Linked DNA regions of Homo sapiens: all the other regions are linked to region 4. The links are contacts of gene promoters, found by promoter capture Hi-C in blood cells and fetal thymus (Javierre and others, 2016). All regions are on one chromosome and are shown on one strand. Each heading gives the region's core, a stretch centred on a gene start or on the middle of the fragment in contact. The rest is flanking DNA. Distances are from core to core; before and after follow the strand shown. Region 1 overlaps PDCD1LG2 (programmed cell death 1 ligand 2). Region 2 overlaps INCR1 (interferon stimulated noncoding RNA 1). Region 3 overlaps RIC1 (RIC1 partner of RAB6A GEF complex). Region 4 holds the start of INSL6 (insulin like 6). Region 5 overlaps PDCD1LG2 (programmed cell death 1 ligand 2). Region 6 overlaps RIC1 (RIC1 partner of RAB6A GEF complex). Region 7 overlaps PDCD1LG2 (programmed cell death 1 ligand 2).

Region 1 (4,111 bases), core at 966-3,465, 340 kb before region 4:
CTTCCTCTGTAGAAAGAGCCAATGAGGGATAAAAAATGTTGCCCCTTGTCACCCTAGCTCACTCCTTTCCTAAGAGAAAAGGCAAAAAACAAAGACAGAAAACCCAGGATCTCAGTGTTTTTAAGCTACAAACCCACAGAGGTTACACATTCCCCAAGTTTTCTCCTGAAGCCCCCAGTCCTGCCACAGGATGGGGAACAGTGTCTTTTGGCCCTCATTTCCCTTATCACTCTATGGAAACTTGAAGCTGTTTTGTAGCAAGGAAGTTATTGCCCCTTTTGCTTGTCTCTAAAATGCCAGCCAGGCAGGGTTCCTTGCAAAGAAAACATGAAAAGTTCCTTTAGCTGGCCCTGCAGGCAGGAGCAGAGTAGAAGTAAGCAGAATATCTCAGGGTCTTCCTTTGAGGAGGGCCCCAAGTGCATGTCTCTAGTGCCAGACCAGGCTGGGCAGCTCAAGTGAGTGAGAGGAATGTGACTGGGTGAAGAGTGATCTGGAACCAGCTAGTAGGGAGGAGAAAGCTCTTCGAAAGGTTATCAAGTGCCAAGGGAGCCATTATTTCTCAATCATGAGCAGAAAGATGATTTCCCATGGGGCTGGGGCTATTGTCTTGAGGACTTAATCCTCTGTCCACACCTCTATGTTACTCTCTTAGCTCCTGGTGTTCATCCAAAATAGTGCACTCATGGTTCTAACTACACCCTCGAATGGTCTGAACTACCTTCCCCAGGAGAACAACCAACTGTGAAACTGCTTTTCTTTCTGCTCACCCTCATCCTCCAATAGAAGTCCTTTCTTCAAGTCCAAAGGGATAGCCTTAAGGTTCATTGTTCATTTGGGTTTTAGGAAGACTCAGTAAACCACATTAAGGTATGAATGACCAACGGCTGCTATTGTTGCTTTTCAAAAAAGAAACTCACAGAAACAACTAATAATATGCAGAATGTCTTCAAGACATTATCTTTAGAGTAACGGTGTTCCCTGGCCATTGTCTCCTTACTCTCCCTGCCAGAAAGGAAGGGGACAGCTGCTTGGCATCTCACCTTTAAGGGAACTCAACCCCTGCCCTCTTGTATCAGTTTAGATTTACATGGTCTGAGTGATCCTGTCTTCTTGTCATTACCCTCACTGGATAGTGGGAATAGATGGAGCAATATTCTCAGTCACCGTTTCTGTCAGATAGGGACATTGGCATGTATAAGCCACCATGGGGACTCTTTTTTTTTTTGTGGTGCTTGGAATAGCCCAGAAATCATACGTCCTCTCAAAGAAAGCCCTCAGCCTGAGGGCCACATTCTCATTTTTGGCTTTGGCTAGGAACCACCACCTGCTCTTCTTTCTTAAGCCTCTCCCTTTGTCCTTTCTTACCTGCTATCTGGTGAAGCTGCAATTCCAGGCTCAACATTAGCAGGAGGAAGATCATGTTCTGTATTTGATCTGAAATAGACAATTGAAAGTCTCAGGGCCTTGTGAAACTTTGCTGGGTCTTTGGTTCTTTGTTCACTTTTGAAAACAGGGGAATAACAAATCATTTGGGGAAGGTGACAGACCATGGTAGAGTGGAGCTGGGAGGAGAAGTTATAGGTTGATTTCCTGGAGAAGAGAAGATATAAATTAAGAGTAAACAAGACACTCTTTATAAATCCAAATGAGAAGTTCTTCTTCCTTTTCTAATGGCCGTTTCTGAATATGAACCAGTCCTTGTGAACCACACATATTGGCAGTTACCTGCACGTCTCATGAAGCTTTCCATAGCTTTTTTCAATAGCTGGCCCTTGAACCCCAACTTTGTTTGTCAAATGAATAATGGACACCATCTTCTTTACCTGGACTGGATGTCTGGGAGTCTGACACTTGAAAATAAGACTCCATAGAACAGAGCTACATTCTCAATAAATACTTGCTAGTTGACTGAGCAAAGTAGTCAAGTGCTTTTGAGTGCTGGAATTGAGTTTGCCCCTCTCTTGAACTACCTCTTACTAAGAGGTTTAGACAGGGAGAGTAGGGAACTGGCTCTGATGAGGGTGGGGGCTGCGAATGCCCCACCTTGGTCCTGCTGTACCTCCCATGCTTTCTCCTTTACTCTGAAGCTTTCTTTATCCATGGACTTCTTATGGTTGAGGAAAGGGACAGAGCACACAGCTAATCTGATAATGGTCTGAAACTGAGGAGGCTTTCCAACTTTTATCAGCCATGGAATCATTTCTTCAGGGGAAATCTGTTGGAGCCATACATCTAAATCAGGCAACAGCAGAGCTGCTCTGAGTGTGATGAAAAGCAGTGGAGGGTTTGGGTCAGGAGAATGATAGAACCTCATTTACATCATTAAGAGACAACTAAGCTTTGGTGTAGGCAATAGACTATTGCTGAGAGGGAGAGGTTGCTGGCAAGATTACAAGCAGTGAGATCGGTTAGGAATGTGTTTGCAGAAATGCTGATAGCTTAGAGTAGAGGGGCTAGTAGGGGTGAGAAGTGGTCTGTTGGCGAGTTTATATATTTTTTCTTTGTTTTAAAATTTTATTTTAAAAATTTCAACAGCTTTATTAAAGTATAATTGATATACGAAAGAGGGTTATATGTGTCTAAGTGTGTATATATATTTAAAACACAAACTTTTTTTAAGTGCACGACTCTGTGGTTTTTAGTATGTTCACGGAGTTGTGCAACAAACACTATTATCCAATTTTAGAACATTTTCATTACCCTGAAAAGGAACCCCTTACCCATTAGCAGAAACTTCCTATTTCCCCTTCCCTTTCCCTATGGCCCTTGGCAACCACTAATCTAGTTTCTGTCTCTATCAATTGCTTATTCTGGATATTTCATAAAAATGGAATCAAGCAATATGTGGACTTTTGTGGCTGGCTTTTTTCACCGAACATAATGTTGTCAAGGTTCATCTGTATTGTAGCATATATCAGCACTGCGTTCCTTTTTGTGACTAAATAATATTCCATTGTATGATATACCACATTTTGCTTACCCATTCATCAGTTGATGGTCATTTGGATTGTTTCTGCTTGTTGGCTATTATGAATAAAGTTCCTATGAAAACTCATATACAAGTCTTTGTCTATGTATACTTTTAATTATCTTGGGTACATATGTAGGAGTAGAATTGCTGAATTAAATGGTAACTCTATATTTAACTTTTTGAGGAATTGCCAAACTATTTATCAAATATATGATTTGGAAATATTTTTTCCCATTCTGCACATTGTCTTTTCAGTTTCTTTATAGAATCCTGTGAAGGATAAATGTTTTAATTTAATTTTGATTTTATTTAATTTTGAAACACAAATTGATTTTAAGTAAAAAAATCCAATTTATCTACTTTTTTCTTTTATTGTTTGTGCTTTAGGTGTAATACCTAAGAAACCATTGCCTAGTCAAGGTCACAAAGATTTACATCTGTATTTTCTGCTAAGATAAATATAAATGGAGCAATTGTACAGGGACAACTGGATGTCCACATGCAAAAGAACAAATTTGGAGCCTTACCTCATACCATATACAAAAATTAAACAAAATGGATCAAGAACCTAAATATAAGAACTTTAGTTCCAAATTTGTTCTACTGATTGTGGGCATTCAGTTGTGCCTGTACAATTTGTTGAGGAAATTATTCTTTCCCTATTGAACTGTCTTGGCACCCTTGCAAAACATCAATTGATCATATATATAAGGATGTATTTCTGGACTCTCGATTCTGTTTTATTGAACTATATGTCTATCCTATGTCAGTACCACACAGCGTTGATTACTGTAGCTTTGTAGTAAGTTTTGAAACTGGAAAGTGTGAGTCCTCCAACTTTGTTAGTCTTTTTCAAGATTTTTTTTTAGGGGGCTATTCGGGCTTCCTTACATTTTCAAATGAATTTTAGGGTCAACTTGCTCATTTCTGCAGACAAAGGAAGCTGGAATTTTGGTAGGGATTGCATTGAATCCATAGATCAATTTGGGGAATACAGCCAGCTGAATAATATTTAGTCTTCCAATTCATGAATACAGCATGTCTTTCCTTTGTTTAGGCCTTCTATAGTTTGAAAAAAGACCTGAAGGGAACTGCTGACAGGCTAGATATATAGTTTGAGAAAAAGAGGGAAATCTGGGA
Region 2 (3,886 bases), core at 992-3,491, 440 kb before region 4:
GGGTCTGCAGTGAGAGCTGGTGATGAAGCTCCTGCCGGTGTGGAGCTTACATCCCTAAGGGAGCGTTTATTTAATCAGTAAATAAACCACTCACCATGAAAGTATTGAGTTCTGTCTCCTGCCTTTCAGGAGTTCTAAATCTATGTCTTTGAAATCCATTTCCATTCGTCTCAGCCTTACCAGCCATAACTTTAGATGAGAGGAGGCTATCTCTTTCGTGCTGCAAAAGGCTTGGACTTAGTTTTAGAACTGGAAGGGACTGGTGATAGCGTAGGTCCATATTTAGCTTTTGGACCCCAGGTATCACCTTAGCTGTAACTTTCAACGGATTGACCCAGTGGTAACGTCTGAATAGAAGGAGGGTTGAGGGGATATGGTGTGGAATGGGGGAAGGAGGAGTCTGAAATAGAAGAAAGATTTGCTTCTCATTGTCTACCTTTTTTAGTACAGTTTGAATTTTTCCATATGTTTGTATTACTTTTTCAATTAAAAAGCCAGGTTTAAAAAATGACCCCACATTAAAAAGTAGCAACGTAGGCGGGGTGCTGGGGCTCACGCCTGTAATCCCAGCATTTTGGGAGGCCGAGGCGGGCAGATCACTTTAGGTAAGCAGTTCGAGACCAGCCTGGCCAACATCGTGAAACCCCCGTCTTACTGAAAATACAAAAATTAGCTGGGCGTGGTGGCAGGTGCCTGTAATCCCAGTTCCTCAGGAGGCTAAGGCAGGAGAATCGCTTGAACCTGGGAGGCGGAAGTTGCAGCAAACCAAGATCCCTCCACTGCACTCCAGCCTGGGCAACAGAGTGAGACTGTCTCAAAAAAAAAAAAAAAAGTAGCAACATAAACAGAAAAAAGGAAACAAAGAAACTTAATTCATATTAGATATAGCATTGTAGCTGGTATTCATAACCAAATATGTAACTTTCTGTAATTTTTCTAAACATTCACTGCATTCCCTGGAAGGTGATGATAGAATCCTGTATTCCTCAAATGGAGGTTGAAACTGCCTCACCACTCACCAGCCTGTTGCGATCAGATTGTCTCCTTGGCGTCTACCCTCCCCCAGTCCAACACAGCAGCCTGGAACATAGTAAGCATAGTAAGCTGGCAGTATTTGTCAGACAAACCGTGGAGGAAACCCTGATCCAGCTGAGCTACACCATTAGACAAAGAGGCCCAGAGAGGTTTCTTAACTTGCCAATTTCAAATTGTAGAATAACAAAGTTGCATCATACTTTCATCTTAGATTCAGTTATGCACTTGGCAGAAAGAGGAAATGAAAATGTTCTAGTGCAGCAATTTTGCTGGCAGTGTTACTGAATGTTTGTCCCAGCTGTCTCTCAGAGAGTCTTTGTTCTCATGTGTCTCAAGTTTGTCATACTGTGCTCATGGGCAATTTAAGGAACTTCTAAGCAATTTTTATTGCACTCAATTTTAACCTTACTTGCTGACTTTAGAAGCTTATTCCTCTGCCACACTCCTGTGTAGCACTTAAGATTCACAAAATAATTCCAAATGCTTGTCTTGATTTAATTCATAGTAAACATTCAAGGTGAGTGACATTGGTGTGATGTTGTTATTCTCACTTTCTCAAGTGAGGAAACAGGACAGGTGTGGTAGATGTGCCTGAATTCACATGGCCTGAAAAGAACTGATGTTCTTTCTACAGATCCAGTGTGATTTCTTTCTTTTTTTTTTTTTTTGAGGTGGAGTTTCGCTCTTGTTGCCCAGGCTGGCGTGCAATGGTGCCATCTCAGCTCACTGCAGCCTCCACCTCCTGGGTTCAAGCAATTCTCCTGCCTCAGCCTCTGGAGTAGTTGGGATTACAGGCATGCACCAACATGCCTGGCTAATTTTGTATTTTTAGTAGAGACGAGGTTTCTCCATGTTGGTCAGGCTGATCTGGAACTCCCGACCTCAGGTGATCCGCTCACCTCGGCCTCCCAAAGTGCTGGGATTACAGGCGTGAGCCACCGCACCCAGCCTCCTGTGTGATTTTTTTAAAAATTTAAGGTTTGGCTGGGCGCGGTGGCTCATGCCTGTAATCCCAAAACTTTGGGAAGCCAAGGCAGGCGGATCATGAGGTCGGGAGTTTGAGACCAGCCTGGCCAATATGGTGAAACCCTGTCTTTCTGCTAAAAAAAAAAAAATACAAAAATTAGCCAGGCATGGTGATATGCACCTGTCATCCCAGCTACTCTGGAGGATAAGGCAGGAGAATTGCTTGAACCTGGGAGGCAGAGGTTGCGGTGAGCCGAGATCGCTCCACTGCACTCCAGGCTGGGTAACAGAGTGAGACTTTGTCTCAAAAAAAAAAAAAAAAATTAAGGCTTATGGCATCCCTGCATCAAGTAAGTCTATTGTTGCTGTTTTTCCAACAGCATATGCTCTTTAGGCTGAACTAAATTGTGGTAATTGCTCTGGACAGTGAGAGGGAGTGGGGGAAACCTCTAGGTCTTTCTCCCTGGCGGGGAGAAAAGGAAATATCTGACTCTCCAAAACCCTATACTTGAGAGTTCCCCTATTGTGACAAAAATGTTATTGGCTGGATTTTTCAACATCATTTCTTTTTCTTTCTTTCTTTTTTTTTTTTTTTTTGAGACAGAGCATTGCTTTGTCACCCAGGCTGGAGTGCAGTGGTGCAATCTTGGCTCACTGCAACCTCCGCCTCCCGGGTTCAAGTGATTCTTGTGCCTCAGCCTCCTGAGTAGCTGGGACTACAGGCATGCACCACCACGCCTGTCTAGTTTTTGTATTTTTAGTAGAGATGGGGTTTCATCATGTGCCAGGCTAGTCTCCAACTCCTAGCCTCAAATGATCCACCAGCCTCGGCCTCCCAAAGTGCTGGGATAACAGGTGTGAACCGCCGTGCCTGGCTTCAACTTTCAAATATCATATTTTAACTTTATTTTGTAAAATATACTGACAGTTCTCATGCCTTAGGTCTTCTCCTCCTTTTTCTACTAGTTTCCACCACCACTCCTGTCAAAATTTTTGGACTCTGTTCTAAGATTAAGCTTATGATAAAAGTTAGTAGGGGGCCGGGCAGGGTAATCACGCCTGTAATCCCAGCACTTTCGGAGGCAGAGGTGGGCGGATCACTTGAGCCCGGGAGTTTGAGACCAGCCTGGGCAACATGGTGAAACCCTGTCTCTACAAAAAATCAGTCGGCACTGTGGCATACACCTGTGGTCCCAGCCCCTTAGGCGGCTAAGGCAGGAGAATTGCTTGAGCCTGGGAGGCAGAGGTAATAGTGAGCCAAGATCATGCTATTGCACTCCCACCTGAGTGAAAGGAATGAAATCCTGTCTCAAAAAAAAAAAAAAAAGTTACTAGGTGCATGTTTTCATCTATGAAACTTATAAACTTTTTAAATTACTAGAAATAATGTTGGTAAGAGTACACATAAGAAATGGGGATACATTTATACTCTCTTGATGGAAGTATGATTTGGTGCAATTTTTTTTTTTAATATAAGGTTTGTGGTAACCCTGTGTTGAGTGAGTCTATTGGCACCATTTTTTCTAATAGCATATGCTCACTTCATGGCTCTTATCACATTTTGGTAATTCTTTCAATATTTGAAACTTTTTCATTATTAGTATATCTGTTATGATGATTTGTGGTCAGTGGTCTTTGTTGTAACTATTGTAATTGTTTTGGGGTGTCATGTACCACATCCATGTAAGATGGAGAACTTAAGCGATAAATGTTATGTGTGTTCTGACTGTTCCATCAACTGGCAGTTCCTCTGTCTCTCTCCCTTTCTTTGGGCCTCCCTATCCCCTGAGATGCAACAATATTGAAATTAGGCCTGTTAGTAACCCAACAGTAGCCTCTAAGTGTTCAAGTGAAAGAAAGAATCCCCGTCTCTCACTTTAAGTAA
Region 3 (4,101 bases), core at 473-2,972, 460 kb before region 4:
CAGAAAAAACATCTGATAAAACTCAATATCCTTTCATGCTAAAAATACTCAAAAAACTATGAATAGAAGCAAACTATCTCAAGATAATAAAAAGGCCATATATAAAAAACCTATACCTGGCTAGGCATGATGGCTCACAGCTGTAATCTCAGCACTTCAGGAGGCCGAGACAGGTGGATCACCTGAGGTCAGGAGCTCGAGACCAGTCTGAACAACATGGCAAAACCCTGTCTCTACTAAAAATACAAGAAATTAGTCGGGTATGGTGGCGGGCGCCTGTAATCCCAGCTACTTGGGAGGCTGAGGCAGAAGAATTGCTTGAACTCGGGAGGTGGCGGTTGCAGTAAGCCGAGATCACACCATTGCACTCCGGCCTGGGCAACAGAGCAAGAAAAAACCACTACCACTACCACCACCACCACCACCATCACCACCACCACCACCACCACCACCACCACCACCACCCACCCCCACACACACAAACAAAAAACAAACAAACAAAAACAAAAAACAAAACAACAACTTGTAACCAGCATCAAACTCAATGGTGAAAAGATGGAAAGCTTTTCCTCAAAGGTCAGAATTAAGACAAAGATGCCCATTCTTACCACTTCCATTCAACGTAATACCTAAAGCCCTAGCCAGAGCAATCAGCAAGGAAATGAAATAAAATAAATCTAACTTGGAAATGAATAAGTAAAATTATATGTTTGAAGATGACATGATCTTATATGTAAAGACTCTAAAGATTCCACAACAACAACAAACCTGTTAGAATGAATGAATTCAGGAAAACTGCAGAATACAAAATCAACACAGAAAAATCAGCAAACCGTAACATCAAAAAGAATAAAGTACTTAGGACTAAACCTAACCAAGCAGGCAAAAGACTTCTACAGTGAAAACTGCAAAATATCACTGAAAGAAATTAGACACAAATAAATGAAAAGATATCCTCTGTTCATGGATTAGAAAATTTAATATTGTTAAGATGTCAATACTACCCAAAGCAATCTACATAGTCAATGTAAGTCCTTTCAAAATCCTAACAGCATTTTTAGCAGAAACAGAAAAATCCATCCTAAAATTCATATGGATTCCCAAGAGACCTCGAATAGACAAAACAAACTTGAAAATAACAAAGTTGGACGTCTCACATTTCCTGACATCAAAACTTACTAGAAGACTACAGCAATCAAAATACTGTCGTACTGGCACAAGGATACACATATAGACCAACAGAATAAAACACAGAGTCCAGAAATACACTCTTGCATAAATAGTCAAATTATTTTCCACAAGGCTACCTAGACCATTCAAAGGGGAAAAGGAAAGAAAGTCTTTTCAACAAACAGTGCTGGGAAAACTGGATATCCACATGTAAAAAAATAAAGCTGGACCCTTATCTTATACTATATACAAAAATTGTCTCAAAGTGATCAAAACTCTAAACAGAAGACCTCACCCTATAAAACTCTTAGAAGAAAACACAAGCCAAAAACTTCATGACTTTGGATTTGAAAACAATTTCTTGGATATGATACTGAAAGCACAGGCAACAAAAAAAAATAGGTAAGACAGACTTCATCAAAATTGAAAATGCTGTGCATCAATGGCTACTACAAAGAGAGTAAAAATGTAACCCTTGAAACAGAAGAAAATACAGTCACGTGTCACTTTAACAAGAGGGGATAAGTTCCAAGAAATGCATCACTAGGCAATTTTGTCATCATGTGAACATCACAGTGGGTACTTAACACAAACCTAGACGTTATGGCCTACTACACACCTTGGCTATAAGGTATACCCTATTGCTCCTAGGATACAAGCCTATATAGCATATTACTATACTGAATACATAAGCAATTGTGCCATAATGGTAAATATTTCTATATCTAAATACTTCTAAACATAGAAAAAGTAATGCATTACACTATATAAAATTTCTATTGTCACTAGGCAAGAAGAATTTTTCAGCTCCATTAGAATTTTATAGGGCCACCATCATATAATGCAGTCTGTTGACAGGAACATCTCAAACTGCCATTACATGGAGCATAACTGTATTAGAAACCACATATCTGATAAAGGATTATACCCAGAATACATGAAGCGTTACAACTCAACAAAAAATAACCCAAGAAAAACAATGGGCAAAGAACTTCAACGGACACTTTCAAAGAAGGCATACACATGACTTACAAGTACATAAAAGATGCTCGACATTAATAACCATTAGGAAAATGCAAACCAAAACCATGACATACCACATTGGACCCAATGGAATGGCAATCATCAAAACAACAGAAAACAAGTACTAGCAAGGATGTGAAGAAACTGGAACCACTGTATTGCTGGTAAGAATGTAAAATGATGTACACTGTGGAAACACAGTATGTGGCAATTTCTTAACATTAAAAAAAAAAGCAAAATTTCTCAAAAAAAAAAAAAACCTATAGAATAACCAAATGAAACAGCAGGTCCACTTCTGGGTATGTACCCAAAAGAAGTAAAGCAGGGATCTGGATATTTGTCTACCCATGTTCACAGCAGCATTATTCACAATATCCAAGAGGTAAAAGCAGCCCATGTGTCCATCAACAGATGAATGAATAAAACAAAATGCAGTATGTACATATACAATGGAGTATCATTCAGCCTTAAGAAGGAAGGAAATTTTGGTACATGCTACAGCATGGATAAAACTTAAGACATGCTGAGTGCAATAAGTCAATCACAAAAAGACAAATAGTGTGTGGTTCCACTTGTCTGAGGTACCCACACAAATCAAATTCATAAAGACAGAAAATACAATAGTAGTTTCCAGGGACTGATGGGATGAGAAAACCAGGAATTACCATTTACAGGGTACGAAGCTTCAGTTTGGGAAAATGAAAATGAAAGTTCTGGATACTGATGGTGGTAATGGTTACATGATAATGTGAATGTACTTAATGCTGCAGAACTTTGCGAAGTATATATCTGCTAAATAATTTGTATCAAGACATATAAAGAACTCTTACAACTGAATAATAAGAGAAATATTCCACTTAAACAAAAATGGTCTGGGCATCATGGCTAATACTTGTAATTCCAACACTTTCGGAGGATAGCCTGACGATGGGAGTTTAAGACCAGCCTGGGCAACTTATGGAGACCCTGTCTCTACAAAATTTTTAAATAAGTGAGGCATGCTGTTGGGCATCTGTAGTCCCAGCTACTAGGGAGGCTGGGGTGGAAGGATCACTTGAGCCCAAGAGTTCAAGGCTGCAGTGACCCAAGATCAGATCACTGTTTTTTTTTTAAATGGACAAAGGATTTGAATAGATAATTAACTACATAGGTATAGCGAAATGGCTAATAAGATATATAAATGGAATAAGATATATAAATAGCTAATAAGCAAATGAAATCATGCCAAACATTTTTTAGTCATTAGAAAAACACCAAATTAAAGCCACAAATAAGACACCACTACAAACCCTCTAGAACGGGTGTGGAGAAACAGAAACTTCCATACATTATTGGTGGGGTTGTAAAATGCTACAGTCACTTTGGAACAAAGTTTTGCACTTTACCAATAAGTTAAACTTGCCATATGACTTAGTAGTTGCACTCCTAGGTATCTCTCTAGAAGAGTAACATTTATCCACACACAGACATGTATACAAATGTTTACAGCAGTATTACTCACAATCATTCAAAATGAGAGTATTATTCACAATGACTCAAATACCTGTCAACTGGTGAATGGAGATAGAAATGCGGCATATGCAAATAATGGAAAAATATTCAGCAACAAAAAGGAATACTACCACATGGACATAGAGTGTGGAATAACAGATACCAGACTCAGAAGGATGAGAAGGGGATAAAGGATAAGAAGTTACTTATGTGTACAATGCACATTCTTTAGCTGATGATTACACTAAAAGCCCAGACTTTACCACTGTGCAATATGTCCCTGTAAAAAAACTGCACTTGTATCCCTTAGTTTACACACATTTTGAAAAAAGAAATATTATGACCTGGATGCACCTCAAAAACATTATGCTAAATAAAAACCAAACACAAATGACCATATACCATATGATTCCAATG
Region 4 (4,104 bases), core at 145-2,644:
ATATCTACTATAGGTTTTGCCTTGTGGTTACCACAAGGCTTACATTCATCTCAGTATGATTAATATTTTCCGTTCTCAAAAACCTTACCTGATAAAGTTCTGACTAGGACTCATGGCCCACTATAGTTTGGACATAAGTTATTTTTTAAGGAAGGTGATTAAATTTTACTAATCTATATTATATCAACCATTTAAAAAATCCAATTGGCAGTTAATTTAACAGCATTCATGGATGCCACTGGGAAGCAGGGAAAAGATAGGGAAACGGAAAATTAAGAAAAAGACATAGAGTCAGAAGACAGAAAAGAAAGGGAGAAAAAAATAAAATTGTATAGGGAAATGGTGAGATCACTGATAAGCTTGCACCTGTGGCTTCAGCATCCTGAACCTTATTCCTGAGACAGCCACCGAATGCCCTCTTGTGGCCGATAGTACATCCTTCCACGCCAACACACTAGTAACACAGAACTTCATTTAAAATGATAAAGCTACCTATGCCGATTGCGCTTCGCTTCCCTGCCCCTTCCCTCCTAACTGAGCAAAATTATCTCACCTAAATGAGCATTTCATGCTGCATGCTGTTATTCTTACAAGGCAAATCCTCTAGGGGTCCCTGTCACAAGTTAATTTGGTAATACACAATCCTCTACATTATCTAACCGAAAGAACCAGATTTCCATCCCAGGTACCTCAAGACAGCGTCCCTACTTCTTTTTTCTGGAGATTGAGGCTAAGGCCCATGCCTCCCTGTGAACCAGTAGGATTTTTCTGAAGAAGCTTTGAACCTGACTAAACGCACATGGCCATATGCAACACTTAAACGTTTCACCACATATTTGATTGCCAGCTAAATGCCAGATCCCGGGGTACGATGGAAAGCAAGAACAGACGCAGGCCCTTGCCTTCATGAAGCGGGGGTCTCAGGAAAGAGGTTACACGCCCACAAATGGAAACAGGTCGATTAACACCGTGAAAGAGATGACAGGGGGTTTCTGTGAGGGAGACGAAGCTTTATTAACAACCTGGCAAACAAGAACGAGAAACGCATTCCAGGTGGAGGGAGCAACACTTTTTAACCTACGTTATCAGGTAACAGGGATCCTATGTTCTCACGCTTGGTGAGGAATCTCCCATTGAGGAAGGAAAGAAAAATGAATCAAACTAGGGGGTGGCGGGGTAGTGAGGGGATTTTTGGCTTTCATTTTAGGAGCCAGGGCCTGCTACCTTCGACCACCTGAGACCCCTGAGCTGGCGGGAAAGCCTTGACGCAGCCGGCGCGCGCCTTCCCTTGAAGTTCTGGCGACGCCCCCACGCGCTCGGAATTCCGCAGTGTTTGTGCGCGCCGCTCGGCCTGGCGCAGGCGCAGACAGGGAGCAGGGTCCGGCCGACCGCCATTGCACAACGCGGAGGACTAGCCTGGGGTCACAGGGATGCCGCGGCTCCTCCGCTTGTCCCTGCTGTGGCTTGGACTCCTGCTGGTTCGGTTTTCTCGTGAACTGAGCGACATCAGCAGTGCCAGGAAGCTGTGCGGCAGGTACTTGGTGAAAGAAATAGAAAAACTCTGCGGCCATGCCAACTGGAGCCAGTTCCGTTTCGAGGAGGAAACCCCTTTCTCACGGTTGATTGCACAGGCCTCGGAGAAGGTCGAAGCCTACAGCCCATACCAGTTCGAAAGCCCGCAAACCGCTTCCCCGGCCCGGGGAAGAGGCACAAACCCAGGTAAAAATCGAAACCGAAGGCATGTTTGTTCACCTCTGTATATTTCTTATTCCTGCATTTGCTCTGCCAGAAGGTGAGCTTCCCCAGGAAGTGGAATTTGTGCCTAGTACACAGCTCTTTAAAAAATTGTAAAAAACAGTGTATTGAAAATATACAAAACTTCAATGAAGCGCTTTTTTTTTTAACTTGGAGGAAATAAATGTACACTTGTAAGTCTACATATTTATGTAAGAATGTTGTTCTTTTCTGGAGTGCCAGTCATCTGGCAAACTCCTTTTTGTCCTTCAAAGCCCAACTTAAGTATCATTTTCCCTGTGAAGTCATCATTGACCTTTTCATGGCCAATGGCTCCATTGTCCTTTCTACCACAGTATCTAGCACATAGTTGTATTTGACTGTCGTCATTGGCTACAGAATCAGCCCAACCTTGTAGAAGATAAAAATGCAGAGTACCTTGTTCAAAAAAGCAGGAAAGGGCCATGAAAATAAAGGTAGTAAAATATAAAACTGTTTTCCTTACTTGTCCATATCCCCTGGTCACGTACCAGGAGATAGGCCTGGTCCGTTCTCCTATCAGGCTTCATTTAAGAGTTTACGTACTTGTATTTCATTCACTTAAAGTTTCAAAGGTAAATTTATTCAGAACAACAAAGGAACATTTAAACCAAATGCAAGGCCTGTGTGACTACATAGGTTTCAGTCCCATAAAGTCAGCCCTATATACCATACTGTATTATAGGGACTATTTCATGCATATTTTTGTCTGAAATGCTTAGCAGATGGCCTAGCACATCGCATGTGTTTAATATGCGCTGAATTTATACTTGATGCTTTCAAGCAGTCTGCAGGAAGGATATTCTTGTTCCAGATTCATTGGTATATCTTACTATGTTTTTACATTTTGTGACTAAGACATTTTAGTCCCAGTATGATTTGTCATTTTAAAAGAAATTGCACTTTGTTTATAGTGTATCCATAGGAAGAAGATTACTGCCTTTTACAGTAATTCAGTTGATTTGATTTGGACAAATCTTGTAAAAGTGAAGATTTCTGAAATTAAGGAAATGAGTAAACTATCATGCCAAAAAGAGACCCTAATGTAGAGGACTGAAAAAAGTCAAACAATGCACATTGTAGGCACTCATTAGCTTTTTTGGAATGAATGAATAGAATTTATAAAGTCACTGTTGCTGAAAGAATAAAAACTTTTAAAGACAGAAACCATGAGACTGATTCATGATCATTTTCAAACCGACCCATCAAACTAACCCACATACAAACCTCACCTTGTCCTTCTGTTATAATGAAGGAAGTGTCTCTCCCCAGTCTTCTACTTTTACTTTAGTTCAGTGACTCTCACGCTTTAATGTGCATATGAATCATTTGGGAATCCTGTTAATTTACCGACTCTGAGTTAGTAGACCTGGGGTGGGGCCTGATATTTTTCGTTTTTAACTAGCTCCCAGGTGCTGCTAGTTCGTGGCCCACACTTTTGAGTAACAAGGTCCAGTTTACTGTCTGTCTCTCTCTTTTTTTTTTCTTTTAAACTCCTCTTTCTTGTTCTTTTCTCCCAGGAGTGCAAGGAGAGCCTTCCCTTTCTGCTTTATGTTGGGTGGGCATTTCTCTCACATCAAATACTGTGCTTTCACTACCTATGCTATAATACTGTAGTCAAAATTTTATTTTTAGACCTCCAAGCTTGAGGCTGTTATTTAAAGAGAGGTTGGAATGCCTTTTCTCAACAAAGTGCTCTAAAGACAGTTTTCTTAATAAAAATGTTCAACCTTAAAACTCAGCTTGTTAATGATCCTTTTGTTTTAAGTATTATTCACACTCCCCTGGAAGAATAAATGTCATTAATAATGAGCAGGAAGCTGCAATGAAACAAGACTTGTAGAAAATAAAAATGTATCTGAAAATATTTGAAAATTGTTATACCCACAAAACCTGCTACTATGGAAACTATGTAAAAGACAGTTTGCTGAAGTGGAAATACTATGTAACAGTAAAACCACAGTTGTATTGAAATATGTAGAGGAAGGAAAAATGGGTTAGGTTATCAACATGAATTGTATTATAATTTTAAAAATTATTAATCTATAAGGGAAGATGACATTTATTCTGTCCTGTTAATTTCTAGGAAATAATTTAGAAGTTGCAGAGATGTATATGTTTCTAATATAGAATACATAATTATGACATCATTTTTATATATGAATATGGCTGGAAAGTTGATTACTTTTTATTTCACTTTTACCAGCAGGACAAGTTGTTGTGTTAGATCAAGTCAGTTGTCTGAAATTTTAATATCCTGATGATCTACTTGAGTCTGACACAGAAAAATATAATTTGCTACGCTGCTATTAAAAAATGCTTTTTTTCAAA
Region 5 (3,883 bases), core at 235-2,734, 380 kb before region 4:
TTAAAACTTCTTTCCACAGTTTTTACCATTGCCCTAGTCCAAGTCTTCAGCTTCTCTCCTCAGACCTATTGCAAGAGCTGTTCCTCTTCCATTCTTTGGGCCACACATAGTTCAGTAATATTGGAGCACATTTCAGGGGCCTCTCCTATTCAAAACCTCTTATAGTTCCCTATTGTGTCAGATATTTCTATTAATTCCTGCAGACTCATTATTCACCCTGCTGCACTCTATTCATGCTCCAGGATGATGACATTGCAGACTGCATCACTGGGCTCCTCCCTCTGTCTTTGACTGGGCTCAGTCTAGGGGAAAAAGAGTGTTGCAGTGGGTTGAGAGAGAGGTTGGGGTATCTATTCCTCAGCAACCTCCCAGACAAGTTGTGGGTTGACTTTGTCCCTCTGTTAAAGACCATAGGTCCTGCCAGATGGACCTTTCTCATTGCCATTTTTACTAGGGTTCTGGGAACTGCTCCCTCCCCTTTCTCCTTCAGACCTAGGAATAGTCACCTTCCCTGCCTGCTCTTGCATCCTGGCATGCTCAGTATCCCTTGCTGGTTTCCCTTAATGCTGCACACACCTTTATAAATTAAACTTGCCTCAGTTACCTCTTCTAAGCATACCCTCCATTTCCTGCTAGGATCTAACTGAAGCACTCTTGCTTAGTAAGTAAAATCTAACTTTTGCCTGGAATTAGTGGTTTACAATACATGCCCTAACAGTCTTTCCCCCTTATCTCACACCTGGCTTTCTCTCTGAACGGGGTCACGTGCACTTTCCCACACCTTCCTGCCTCTCTGCCTTTCCTGTTAGTGTCTCCTCTATCTAGAAGAGTTTGCTGTTTCCATTTCTTCCTGATTCAAAAGTCACCTTCTCCATGAAAACTTTCTTCTTCCCTGATTATCCCCAGCTTAAAGTGATATTTGTCCCCATCTCTGAACTTTCATGTATTGTTTGTCCCTCTTATATGAGCCATAGAGAACCATAAAAAATACACAGACTTTTCACACCATTAAAAATTCATGGGCACAGGTGAGTGAAGCTGTTAGTGACTCCTCTTGCTAATAGCACTCTCCTCCCTCCCTGAGACAACTGTGCTGCCTGAAGAAAGAAAGTGTGAAGTTGCCTGACATGGGTTGGGTATTTCTGAGGATTGATGGTAAGGTGGGCTTCAGGACATAGGGATAATTTGAGAGCTACATGATTTTCCAAATATGTTCCAAGAAGCACAAGGTATCTTAGAGCAGTGGTCCCCAACATTTTTGGCACCAGGGACTGGTTTCAGGGAAGACAATTTTTCCATGGATTGGGTGTGGGAGTGGGGGTAGGCTATAGTTTCAGGATGAACCTGTTCCACCTCAGATCGTCAGACATTAGATTTTCATAAGGAGCACACAACCTAGATCCCTCATATGTGCAGTTCACAATAGGATTCACGCTTCTATGAGAATCTAATGCTGCTGCTGATCTCACAGGAGGTAGAGCTCAGGTAGTAGTGCCCGCTTGTCTCCCGCTCACCTCCTGCTGTGTGGCTCAGTTCCTAACAGGCCACTGGTACCGGTCTGCGGCCCAGAGGTTGGGGACCCCTGCCTTAGAGGCCTTTGTAGGGACAAATATGATATGGACAAATAGCCTATATGATAGGGTGATTATGTCCTCCACTCTAATTTCACCACTATTTTAATTTGCTTGACATGTAGGAGTTCTGTCTAATATTTCCTTTGCGAAAGGTTTATAGTGCCAAAAGAAAAAGAAATTGGAAACCACTGAAATGGGAAAGGGGAAAGGAAACACACCCATGTGGAATGCTGACGCTGTGGTCAGTTCTCAGGTGGAAGTTCTTAGAAGGAAGTCGGGATACTCATGAAAACAAACAAAACAAAACAAAAAACGTAAAGACTGGACCAAAAGTATATAGAAAGCTGGCTTCTTTTTGTTTTAACCCAAATTATGTGAATGAGAACTGTTTCTTGAGTACCTTATCGGTAATACTTAATTGTAAGAATCTTGGATGACTGATAAATTCATCCTTCTAGTTCCCACATGGCCTAACTGACAGGGTCTTGCAAATAACAGAAACTTAATACAGGTTTGTGAGTGGGTGAATGAATGAATAAATGAGTGAGTAGCACTATGCTGGGAATCATGACTTCTTTTGGTCTGCTACTGTTTCACTTAAGGAAGTCACTTAATATCTCTTAGCCCCCAATGTCATAATCTGTGAAATGAGGTAGCTAGGATACATGGTCTGTAAACTCTAACCAAGGCTTGATGACTGTAATAACTATTTTGTAAAGGATAGATGATATATATCTATGGTATCATAATCCACTCCTAAAGTTTTACTGTTTATCTGCTTGTCTGCATAAGAGGGAGAATGGCTAGGCCCAAATAGTAGCACAGATAAAGTTAGATACAAGAACAACTTCCACAAATGGAAAGGGCAGTGTGTCACAGACAAGGACTCAGTGGGTCTGAGTTCTAGCTCCATTTCTAACAGTAAGTTATGATATGACCTTATGCAAGTCACTTCAGCTCTTATATCCTTAGAGCATATCCATCACATTTAGCTGTGCTAGGAGTCTTTGAAAGGCAACTAAGACATTGGTAGGTGTCCTTTAAAGAAGGTATAGCATCGCCCTTCCTAAACTTGATAAGGACTGATGAAGAGTCCTATATAATGTATTTGGTTACTGGGATCTAGAGAGGTGAGTGGGGATGGTTGAAATGGCTTCAGAAAGTATTCTTCTTCTTTTTGAAAGTAATACATCAGGGCACTCAAAAATGTAGTGAAGTACAACAAAAATTCAGAAAACATAAAAGTAAAAAGCAATACTTGATTCCATAATCCAAAAACATGATTACAGGCATTTTCATATTTTTACTTCTGTTTTTCTGGAGGAAGGGAATATGGTGAGTCTATAAATAACATTTTTAATAGGACATGAATGATACATAAGTATATTTTTATTTTGCAATTTTCTATTTTTTTATTATATAGAAAGTATTTCCCCACATTATTATTCCTCAGAACTAGAAGTTTAAATGGCAACGTAGGGTCTATTTATTATAGGTTCCAGTTTTTTCCATGTTGTATTAGAGTAAACTAGGTAATGCTGTAGGAACAAACAACTCCAAAATCTCAATATAAAAAACAAAAGCTTATTCTTGTTCATGTTCCATGTACATTGAGGGTCAGCAGGGGACTCTGTCAATTTTAGTCACTCAGAGACTGAGACTGATGGAGCAATTACTACCTAGAATGTTACTGGTTACCATGCCAGATGGATAAAGAAAATATGGCAAAGCATATGCCAACTCTTACATCTTCTACCCAGAAATAACACGCATCACTTATGCTTACATTTAATTGACCAAAGCGAGTTACATGACCACACTTAACTACAAATTAATCACAGAGAAGTGCAATTCTATCATGTGCACAAAGGCAAGAGATCCAGGAAATGGTGAAACAGCGCTAATACTGAACTCTATTAGGCATTTTCACAAGTCAGGTCTTGCTTCAGTTGCTGGTTAGTGAAGCAAAACCAGCAAGCCCTGTGCTTCTTAAGTTGGAAGGGAAAATATTCATCTGAATAAAAGTCTTGTAAGAAGTACATGCAAGGGACATGTCCAGGCTAAGTCCCAAGACTCCATCTCCCAAGATGCCGAGTCACAAAATGAGAGTGCGGGATGGCTCCCGGGCAGCCTAGAGCTGTACACTCTCCTCATAATGGATGGTTTTGGGATGAGATAGAACTGGGATGGCAGAGAATGGGTGTGGGAATGTCAAAGCCCTGAGCTGTCTGGGCCTGAGCAATATTAAAATCTTAACCATGGCAATTTCTAGGCAATGGATTCTAAATTATTTTTGTTTTCTTTATACT
Region 6 (3,650 bases), core at 869-3,368, 500 kb before region 4:
AATATGGCAAATTATTATTCTAAGTTTATAAAGCAACAATGCCACTTTATGGCTTTATTACACCTTTAAGACAAAACGCTTACTCTACTCAAAATTTACACAGTATTAACTTCAGAACAGCATATTTATATATTTCAAAAACAATCTTTTGGTCTCTGATTTACTACAAAATATAGCCCCAGATACAGACATAAAACAGAGCAAACCTTTAATTTCCAAAATTTGAGTATCAGCTAGTTCATTTTTCTAAGTTAACAAAATATTTTTTAACAACAAATTGTAGGCCGGGCGCGGTGGCTCACACCTGTAATCCCAGTATTTTGGGAGGCCAAGGCGGGCAGATCACGAGGTCAGGAGATCAAGACCATTCTGGCTAACGTGGTGAAACCCTGTCTCTACTAAAAAAATACAAAAAAATTAGCCGGGCGTGGTGGCAGGCGCCTGTAATCCCAGCTACTCAGGAGGCTGAGGCAGGAGAATGGCGTGAACCCAGAAGGCGGAGCTTGCAGTGAGCTAAGATCGCGCCACTGCACTCCCCGCTGGGCGACAGAGCGAGACTCCGTCTCAAAAAAAAAAAAAAAAAAAAAAGAAATTGTATTAAAAACAGTGCTATTACATGATCATGACATACATCTGCGTCATGACATACATACATTTGTGAAGTTCAAACAACCATTTTACATTTCTGTAAGTACAAAATATTATATTTAGCTGTTTCCAGCCAAACATTTTTACGCCTAACAGAGTGAAGTGGCAGTGTTTTGCCCAAACTACTTTACAGTAATACTGAATTCCTATCATTTTAGAGGGAGGTGGGCATGTACTCAAAGTAGAACCAAAGAAAACCAAGAAATTATCCAAGGTTTCAAATTACTTTCTAATTCTGGCTTCCTGTTTTTCAAAGGAATGACCAAGAAAATACTTAGTTTCTTCAGCAAAACCAGGTGGTTTGCTTTCTTTTTGACCATTAACTTTACTATTTTATAATGTATTTGAAACTAGAGTTTCAACACTGTAAGATACAAAAACAAAAGGGTGAAAATTCTTCAGATAAGATCATCTTTCTAATTCTTTATGTGCAATTTTATGTTCTTGCAATATGGAGAGTATGGAAGCAAAAGGAAAATGGCTTCAAATCAAATCATAACAAAGGTTTCACACATAAAAAAACAAGAACAACAACAACAACAAAAACAGACAAAATCTATGAAATACTTTTCAAAACACTGGCATCAAGCAATGAAGGCCAGTCATCCTTGAGAGATAAGAAACAACTGAAGTGACCCTCCTACTCTTACCCAGCTTACTGCCTTGTGAGAATTTCTGGGTCAGCACACTTAGAAGGCGCACTAAGACAAAGCCTGGCAGACTTCCAGAGTTGAGAAGAAGCTGAAGAGTCCAGGAAGAGTAAGACAAACATGAGACATAATGAAAAATCAACCAATCAAAACAATGCATAACTCAATCAGATGTTAAAATTAGCACAAAAGGACATTAAAACCTTTTGCTATATTTCATAATGTTCCAAATGTGAACTATATTCTGTATGTTCCAAAGGTTAGGCAATATAGAAAACTCAAACAAAACTCTAGAAACAGAAATACTAAAATATCTGAGATGAAAAAGACATTGGCTGGATGAATGACAGGTTAGACAATGATCAGAAAAGCACAGCAATAAAAATTATCCATAATGAAACACACACACACACAAAAAAACCCAAAATAAAACAGAAACAAAATCAGTGAATTGAGGAACAACTTCATGTAGCCCAATATACATATAAACAGAGTCTCCGCATGACAGGGGTAAGAGTCAGAAAAAAAATATTTAATTAAATTCAAATTTCATTTGCTTCACTTAAATTTCTTTAAAAGATAACAGGCTTTAAAACAAGAATAATAGCAGTGTATGCTGGGGTTTATACCGTGTGTAAAAATAAAATGTGTATAATATATGTTTCCTGATCCCAATAGAACAAAACTAGAAACAAATAAAAAAAATTCTGGAAAGCCCACAAATATTTTGAAGCTTAACTGCATACTTCTAAATAACCCATGAATCAAAGGAGAAAAAGGGAAATTTTAAAAATACATCATCCCAAAATTTGTGGGATGCTGCTAAAGCAGTACTAAAGAGGAAATTTACAGCCTTAAAATACTTATATTAGAAAAAAAGGAAAATCTCAAATCAATGACAAGCTTCTACCTTAAACTAGAAACAAATTAAACTAGAGCAAACGAAATCCAAAGCAAGTGGTGGAGGGTGGGGAAGCATGCAAATAACAGAGATCAGAGTGGTAATCAATGAAATAGAAAACAGAAAAATAAAATCAATGAATAAAAATCTGGGGTTCTTTTGTTATTGTTTTAGAAGATCACTAAAACTGACATATTTCTGGTCACACTGATCAGGCAAAAAAGAGCCACTAACAGAAATCAAAGAGGTGATATCACTACAAATTCTAGAGGTATTAAAAGAATAATGAGGTCACATTATTAATATGACAATAATTTTAACAACTTGGATGAGATGGACAAATTCCTTGATAAACACAAACCACCAAAGTTCACTGAAAAGAAATCTGTACCCTGAAAAGCCAATGTCTGTTAAAGAAATTATAATTCCAATTCAAATCCTTTCCACAAAGAAAATTCTAGGCTGAGACAGCATCACTGGTAAATTCTACCAACTCTTTAAGAAATAAATAATATCAGTTGAATACAGACTCTTCCAGAACACCAAAGAGAAGGAACCACTTCCTATCTCATTTTATGAGGCCTCATAACAAAACCAGACAAAGACATTATAACTACAGGCCAAGATCCCTCATTAACATATTCTTTTTTTTTATTATTATACTTTAAGTTTTAGGGTACATGTGCACATTGTGCAGGTTAGTTACATATGTATACATGTGCCATACTGGTGCGCTGCACCCACTAACTCGTCATCTAGCCTTAGGTATATCTCCCAGTGCTATCCCTCCCCCCTCCCCCCACCCCACCACAGTCCCCAGAGTGTGATATTCCCCTTCATGTCTCCCTGTGATCTCATTGTTCAATTCCCACCTATGAGTGAGAATATGCGGTGTTTGGTTTTTTGTTCTTGTGATAGTTTACTGAGAATGATGATTTCCAATTTCATCCATGTCTCTACAAAGGACATGAACTCATCATTTTTTATGGCTGCATACTATTCCATGGTGTATATGTGCCACATTTTCTTAATCCAGTCTATCATTGTTGGACATTTGGGTTGGTTTCAAGTCTTTGCTATTGTGAATAGTGCCACAATAAACATACGTGTGCATGTGTCTTTATAGCGGCATGATTTATAGTCATTTGGGTATATACCCAGTAATGGGATGGCTGGGTCAAATGGTATTTCTAGTTCTAGATCCCTGAGGAATCGCCACACTGACTTCCACAATGGTTGAACTAGTTTACAGTCCCACCAACAGTGTAAAACTGTTCCTATTTCTCCACATCCTCTCCAGCACCTGTTGTTTCCTGACTTTTTAATGATTGCCATTCTAACTGGTGTGAGATGATATCTCATAGTGGCTTTGATTTGCATTTCTCTGATGGCCAGTGATGATGAGCATTTTTTCATGTGTTTTTTGGCTGCATAAATGTCTTCTTTTCAGA
Region 7 (4,171 bases), core at 708-3,207, 350 kb before region 4:
TATCCATCTCCTCTAGCTTTTCTAGTTTGTACGTGTAAAGGTGTTCATAGTGGCCTTGAATAATCTTTTGTATTTCTGTGATATGAGTAGTAATATCTCCATTTCATTTCTAATTGAGATTATTTGGATCTTCTCTCTTCTTTTCTTGGTTATCAATTTTATTTATCTTTTCAAATAACCAGATTTTTGTTTCATTTCTCTTTTGTATTTTTTTTGTTTCAATTTCATTTAGTTCTGCCCTGATCTTTGTAATTTCTTTTCTTCTGCTGGGTTTGGGTTTGGATTGTTCTTGTTTCTCCAGCTCCAGGAGGTGTGACCTTAGATTGCCTATTTGTGCTCTTTCAGACTTTTTGATGTAGGCATTTAATGCTATGAATGTTTCTCTTAGCACTGCTTTTGCTGTATCCCAGAGTTTTGATAGGTTGTGTCACTATTATCGTTCAGTTCAAAGAGTTTTTAAATTTCTATCTTGATTTCATTGTTCACCCAATGATCACTCATTATTTAACTTCCATGTAATTGCATGGTTTTGAAGGTTCCTTTTGGAGTTTATTTCCAGTTTTACTCCACTGTGATCTAAGAGAGTACTTGATATAATTTTGATTTTCTTAAATTTATGGAGACTTGTTTTGTGGCCTACTATATAGTCTATCTTGGAGAATGTTCCATATGCTGATGAATAGAATGTATATTCTGCGATTGTTGGGTAGAATGTTCTGTAAATATCTGTTAAGTCTATTTGTGGTAGGGCATAGTTTAAATTCATTGTTTCTGGTTTGAAGTACTTCTGTCAGCTTCAGCCCATTCCTGGTGTTGGCTCTTCCCATCCCCCTGCCCTGCCCAGGCCTTCAGGATGGTTTGGCTCTTGGTGTTCTTGTTTTTAGTGCCTCCTCTGCAACCCTGTCTGGAAACCTTTGCACAGACCAGTTCTCAACCCCAGCTCCTCTGAGAGACCCCTGGGCTCCTGGGGCCTCTCTGTTCTTTGGCCATGCTCCCGCCCCTTCCTCAGATGGATTGCCCCCAGAAATGTAGGTGCCACCTGGCTTTTCAGAAACCACAGTCCTTTATCACTGTCTCTTCCAGAATCTCCGGTCATTCCACCTCATAATTTGTTCTGTCCTTTTGAAATTAACTCTTTTCATTATATTTGATAAGAATTTCTGCCCAGACATCAACGAAGGTGCTATAAACAAACCCATTTTCAAGCTTTATGCCATGGATCAGGCACTTTAAGATAAAAACATGTCCTTCTTCTAGTCCTACTTCATTCATGGGAACCCTCATTGGGGCCTCAGATCTATCTTGCTTCTTTTAGAGACCCTGGATCAGGGTAGCCTACTCTTAGGTGATGGTCCAACTTTTTTTTTGCTTGTATTCCTCCTAAAATAAGTATGATGCAGTATGCTCTTCTCACCTATTAAGTTGATTCTTATAATTTTTCATAAGTTTCTATACTGGAAAAACATATAATGTTCAGCATCTTATGAATTTTTTTAGTAAAACAATTATTTTACTCTTACATATGTATCCAAAGGTGACTAAATATAAAAGAAGTTATCTTTTATATACAACATTATCCTTGAAAAATACATATAAATATTTAACAACAGTATATAGCTTCAAATAGCCAGAAGGGGTACATTGAATGTTCTCAACACAAAGAAATAATAAATATTTGAGATGATAAATATGCTAATTACCCCGATCTGATCACTATACATTGTATATATTGAAACATCACTATGTATCCCATAAATAAGTACAATTATTGTCAATTAAAAAAAGATAAAATACATTCACATATACCCAAAAAAATGATCTCAAAAGAAGGTGCACATAACTTCACAATTTTTTCTGCTGTTATATCTGTTATTGCTTGTAATCATGTTTTCACAATAAACTTAATGTGTCAATTTCTTTTTTTTTTTTTTCTTTTTTTGAGACAGAGTCTCGCTCTGTCGCCCAGGCTGGAGTGCAGTGGAGCGATCTCGGCTCACTACAAGCTCCGCCTCCCGGCTTAACGCCATTCTCCTGCCTCAGCCTCCCCAGTAGCTGGGACTACAGGCGCCCGCCACCGCGCCCGGCTAATTTTTGTTGTATTTTTTAGTAGAGACAGGGTTTCACCATGTTAGCCAGGATGGTCTCGATCTCCTGACCTCATGATCCACCCGCCTTGGCCTCCCAAAGTGCTGGGATTACGGTCGTGAGCCACCGCGCCCGGCCTAATGTGTCCATTTCTAAAATATATATATATAGTACAATATAGTTTCCACAAGAAAAAAAATATATGCATCTAAAACAATATTACATATTTTAAATAAGCTCTTACAAACAAAAGAATATGTATGAAACATGCTGGAATAATTTCCTGTGTTAAAAAAGGGGAATGAGACTGGAGAATGTGGAAAAAAGAGAATAAATAAATAAGACAAATAACAGAGGCTTTTTGGGTAAGGAACCTAATCTATTCAATTCCTTCTAAGTAAAAATAAATAAATTATTAAATGAAAAAATTCTTCTCTGTCTAAATTGTTTCTTTTCATTCATTGAAACTCACTTCCAATTTCACCTTCCCTACAGAATTTTATCTTAATGTAACATATTTTTGTTTGACAGATTTTGTATTGATTATCGTTATATGTCTTTACAACAACAAAATATTTATAGCTATTGAAATGAAAACTTTTCTCTTGTGACTATGAAGCTTTAAATGTTCAGGGTGTTCTGCATTAAGATCTAATTTTTTTTTTTAACAGTAAGTTTTAGGGTACATGTGCACAACGTGCAGGTTTGTTACATATGTATACATGTGCCATATTGGTGTGCTGCACCCATTAACTTGTCATTAAACATTAGGTATATCTCCTAATGCTATCCCTCTCCCCTCCCCCGACCACACAACAGTCCCCAGTGTGTGATGTTCCCCTCCCTGTGTCCATGTGTTCTCATTGTTCAATTCCCACCTATGAGTGAGAACATGCGGTGTTTGGTTTTTTGTCCTTGGGATAGTTTGCTGAGAATGATGGTTTCCAGCTTCATCCATGTCCCTACGAAGGACATGAACTCATCATTTTTTATGGCTGCATAGTATTCTATGGTGTATACGTGCCACATTTTCTTAATCCAGTCTATCGTTGTTGGACATTTATTTCTATTATTATTAACACATATTTGATCAAAATGTAAAATGTTATGAATATTGATAATTATTAAACATGAAAGATGAAAATTTATTGGGAATGTGTCCCTTAATAAGATGGATATGGCTCTCTTTTCCAAATTATTCATGAATCCGAAGAACCATATGACATGGTTGGAATGATTTTATATAATAGAATTCAGCCTCAATTCTATTTCTATTTTTCATTTTTTTGTAGCTTATAAAGGCTAAGGAATCTTGTTCGTATGAGTAAATCAATGGGAATGGAAGCAGTTTCGTTACAGCAATGCCATTTCATTCTTTGACCTGATTTACATGGCAAAAATTACTCATTTTTGATTATCAGTTATTAACTTTATAAGGGCCTCCTTCAATTTTGTTGAAAGCAGAAAATTAGATACCACATTATTTGCAAAAGGGTTTTTAGTCATAACAGTTCCATCAGGTGTCAATGTTCCCAATCATTCTTTTATTTAACACTATAGAGGGTTTTACACCCTGGGACAATGGACTATATTCATGATGAGTGAGTGGTAGGCTTAAAAGAGGAAGTGTTTTAGGGGAACCCCAAGAGCCTTGCCTGGCATGCACATTGTCAGGCTCGTCAATTTTGGGAACGAGTATTTGGGGAAGATGAGGATCTAGGAACTCACTTCCTAAAACTGCCTGTGCCCATACATCCCTTGAAAAGTCTTTGTAATCCCCAAATATCCCAGTTTGATGACCAACACTATAAGGAACAAATCTCTCCACAACTGAGAAATCCCTGATCTAGGTAAGGAGTAGGCAGGGTGCCTCCCCAGGAATGAGAGACAGTTCTCAGTTTGAGAGAATGGGCAGAAGGCCTGGCCCATTAATACAGCATTCAGATAGAGATCAATAAAAACAGAGGTGGTGATTTAGGGTTGCAGATATTCGAGTACATCAAGGCATCCTGAGAATGTACAGCCTTACATTAAGGGAACTCAGACAAACTTCAGTGTTCTAGAGTTCCTCCCAGCTGCTGCCTGG

What was found. The method cuts DNA at HindIII sites, captures the fragments that hold promoters and counts their contacts. A CHiCAGO score of 5 or more calls a contact.
Region 1: a contact is called between a fragment that was not itself captured here and the fragment with the promoter of INSL6 in region 4, in 1 of 17 cell types (naive B cells). The highest score is 5.3, in naive B cells.
Region 2: a contact is called between a fragment that was not itself captured here and the fragment with the promoter of INSL6 in region 4, in 9 of 17 cell types (activated CD4 T cells, total B cells, total CD4 T cells and 6 more). The highest score is 11.7, in activated CD4 T cells.
Region 3: a fragment that was not itself captured here is called in contact with the fragment with the promoter of INSL6 in region 4 in 1 of 17 cell types (naive B cells); the score reaches 5.1 in naive B cells.
Region 5: a contact is called between a fragment that was not itself captured here and the fragment with the promoter of INSL6 in region 4, in 5 of 17 cell types (naive CD4 T cells, total CD4 T cells, naive CD8 T cells and 2 more). The highest score is 9.5, in naive CD4 T cells.
Region 6: a fragment that was not itself captured here is called in contact with the fragment with the promoter of INSL6 in region 4 in 2 of 17 cell types (naive B cells and naive CD8 T cells); the score reaches 8.0 in naive B cells.
Region 7: a contact is called between a fragment that was not itself captured here and the fragment with the promoter of INSL6 in region 4, in 1 of 17 cell types (activated CD4 T cells). The highest score is 5.6, in activated CD4 T cells.

Annotation. Positions count from the first base shown.
Region 1 is chr9:5,519,856-5,523,966 of GRCh38, reverse strand. It overlaps PDCD1LG2 (programmed cell death 1 ligand 2), which reads right to left. Exons shown (of 7, transcript NM_025239.4): 2 at 1,366-1,434. The coding sequence starts at 1,420. All of the region lies in intron 2 of INCR1 (interferon stimulated noncoding RNA 1), which reads left to right. Among named protein-coding and RNA genes, the nearest start is that of PDCD1LG2, 11 kb to the right of the region's middle. The HindIII fragment of the contact is 251 bases long and covers 2,090-2,340 here.
Region 2 is chr9:5,624,665-5,628,550 of GRCh38, reverse strand. All of the region lies in intron 1 of INCR1 (interferon stimulated noncoding RNA 1), which reads left to right. Among named protein-coding and RNA genes, the nearest start is that of RIC1, 2.5 kb to the left of the region's middle. RefSeq lists an enhancer at 1,035-1,254. The HindIII fragment of the contact is 1,557 bases long and covers 1,463-3,019 here.
Region 3 is chr9:5,644,301-5,648,401 of GRCh38, reverse strand. All of the region lies in intron 1 of RIC1 (RIC1 partner of RAB6A GEF complex), which reads right to left. Among named protein-coding and RNA genes, the nearest start is that of INCR1, 17 kb to the right of the region's middle. The HindIII fragment of the contact is 2,313 bases long and covers 566-2,878 here.
Region 4 is chr9:5,182,929-5,187,032 of GRCh38, reverse strand. It overlaps INSL6 (insulin like 6), which reads left to right and starts at 1,394. Exons shown (of 2, transcript NM_007179.3): 1 at 1,394-1,719. The coding sequence starts at 1,431. The HindIII fragment of the contact is 2,408 bases long and covers 1,012-3,419 here.
Region 5 is chr9:5,565,932-5,569,814 of GRCh38, reverse strand. All of the region lies in intron 6 of PDCD1LG2 (programmed cell death 1 ligand 2), which reads right to left. The region is part of intron 1 of INCR1 (interferon stimulated noncoding RNA 1); the gene reads left to right. Among named protein-coding and RNA genes, the nearest start is that of PDCD1LG2, 57 kb to the right of the region's middle. RefSeq lists an enhancer at 180-269. The HindIII fragment of the contact is 3,350 bases long and covers 1-3,159 here.
Region 6 is chr9:5,685,983-5,689,632 of GRCh38, reverse strand. The region is part of intron 2 of RIC1 (RIC1 partner of RAB6A GEF complex); the gene reads right to left. Among named protein-coding and RNA genes, the nearest start is that of INCR1, 58 kb to the right of the region's middle. The HindIII fragment of the contact is 170 bases long and covers 2,034-2,203 here.
Region 7 is chr9:5,536,456-5,540,626 of GRCh38, reverse strand. All of the region lies in intron 3 of PDCD1LG2 (programmed cell death 1 ligand 2), which reads right to left. The region is part of intron 1 of INCR1 (interferon stimulated noncoding RNA 1); the gene reads left to right. Among named protein-coding and RNA genes, the nearest start is that of PDCD1LG2, 28 kb to the right of the region's middle. The HindIII fragment of the contact is 1,498 bases long and covers 1,209-2,706 here.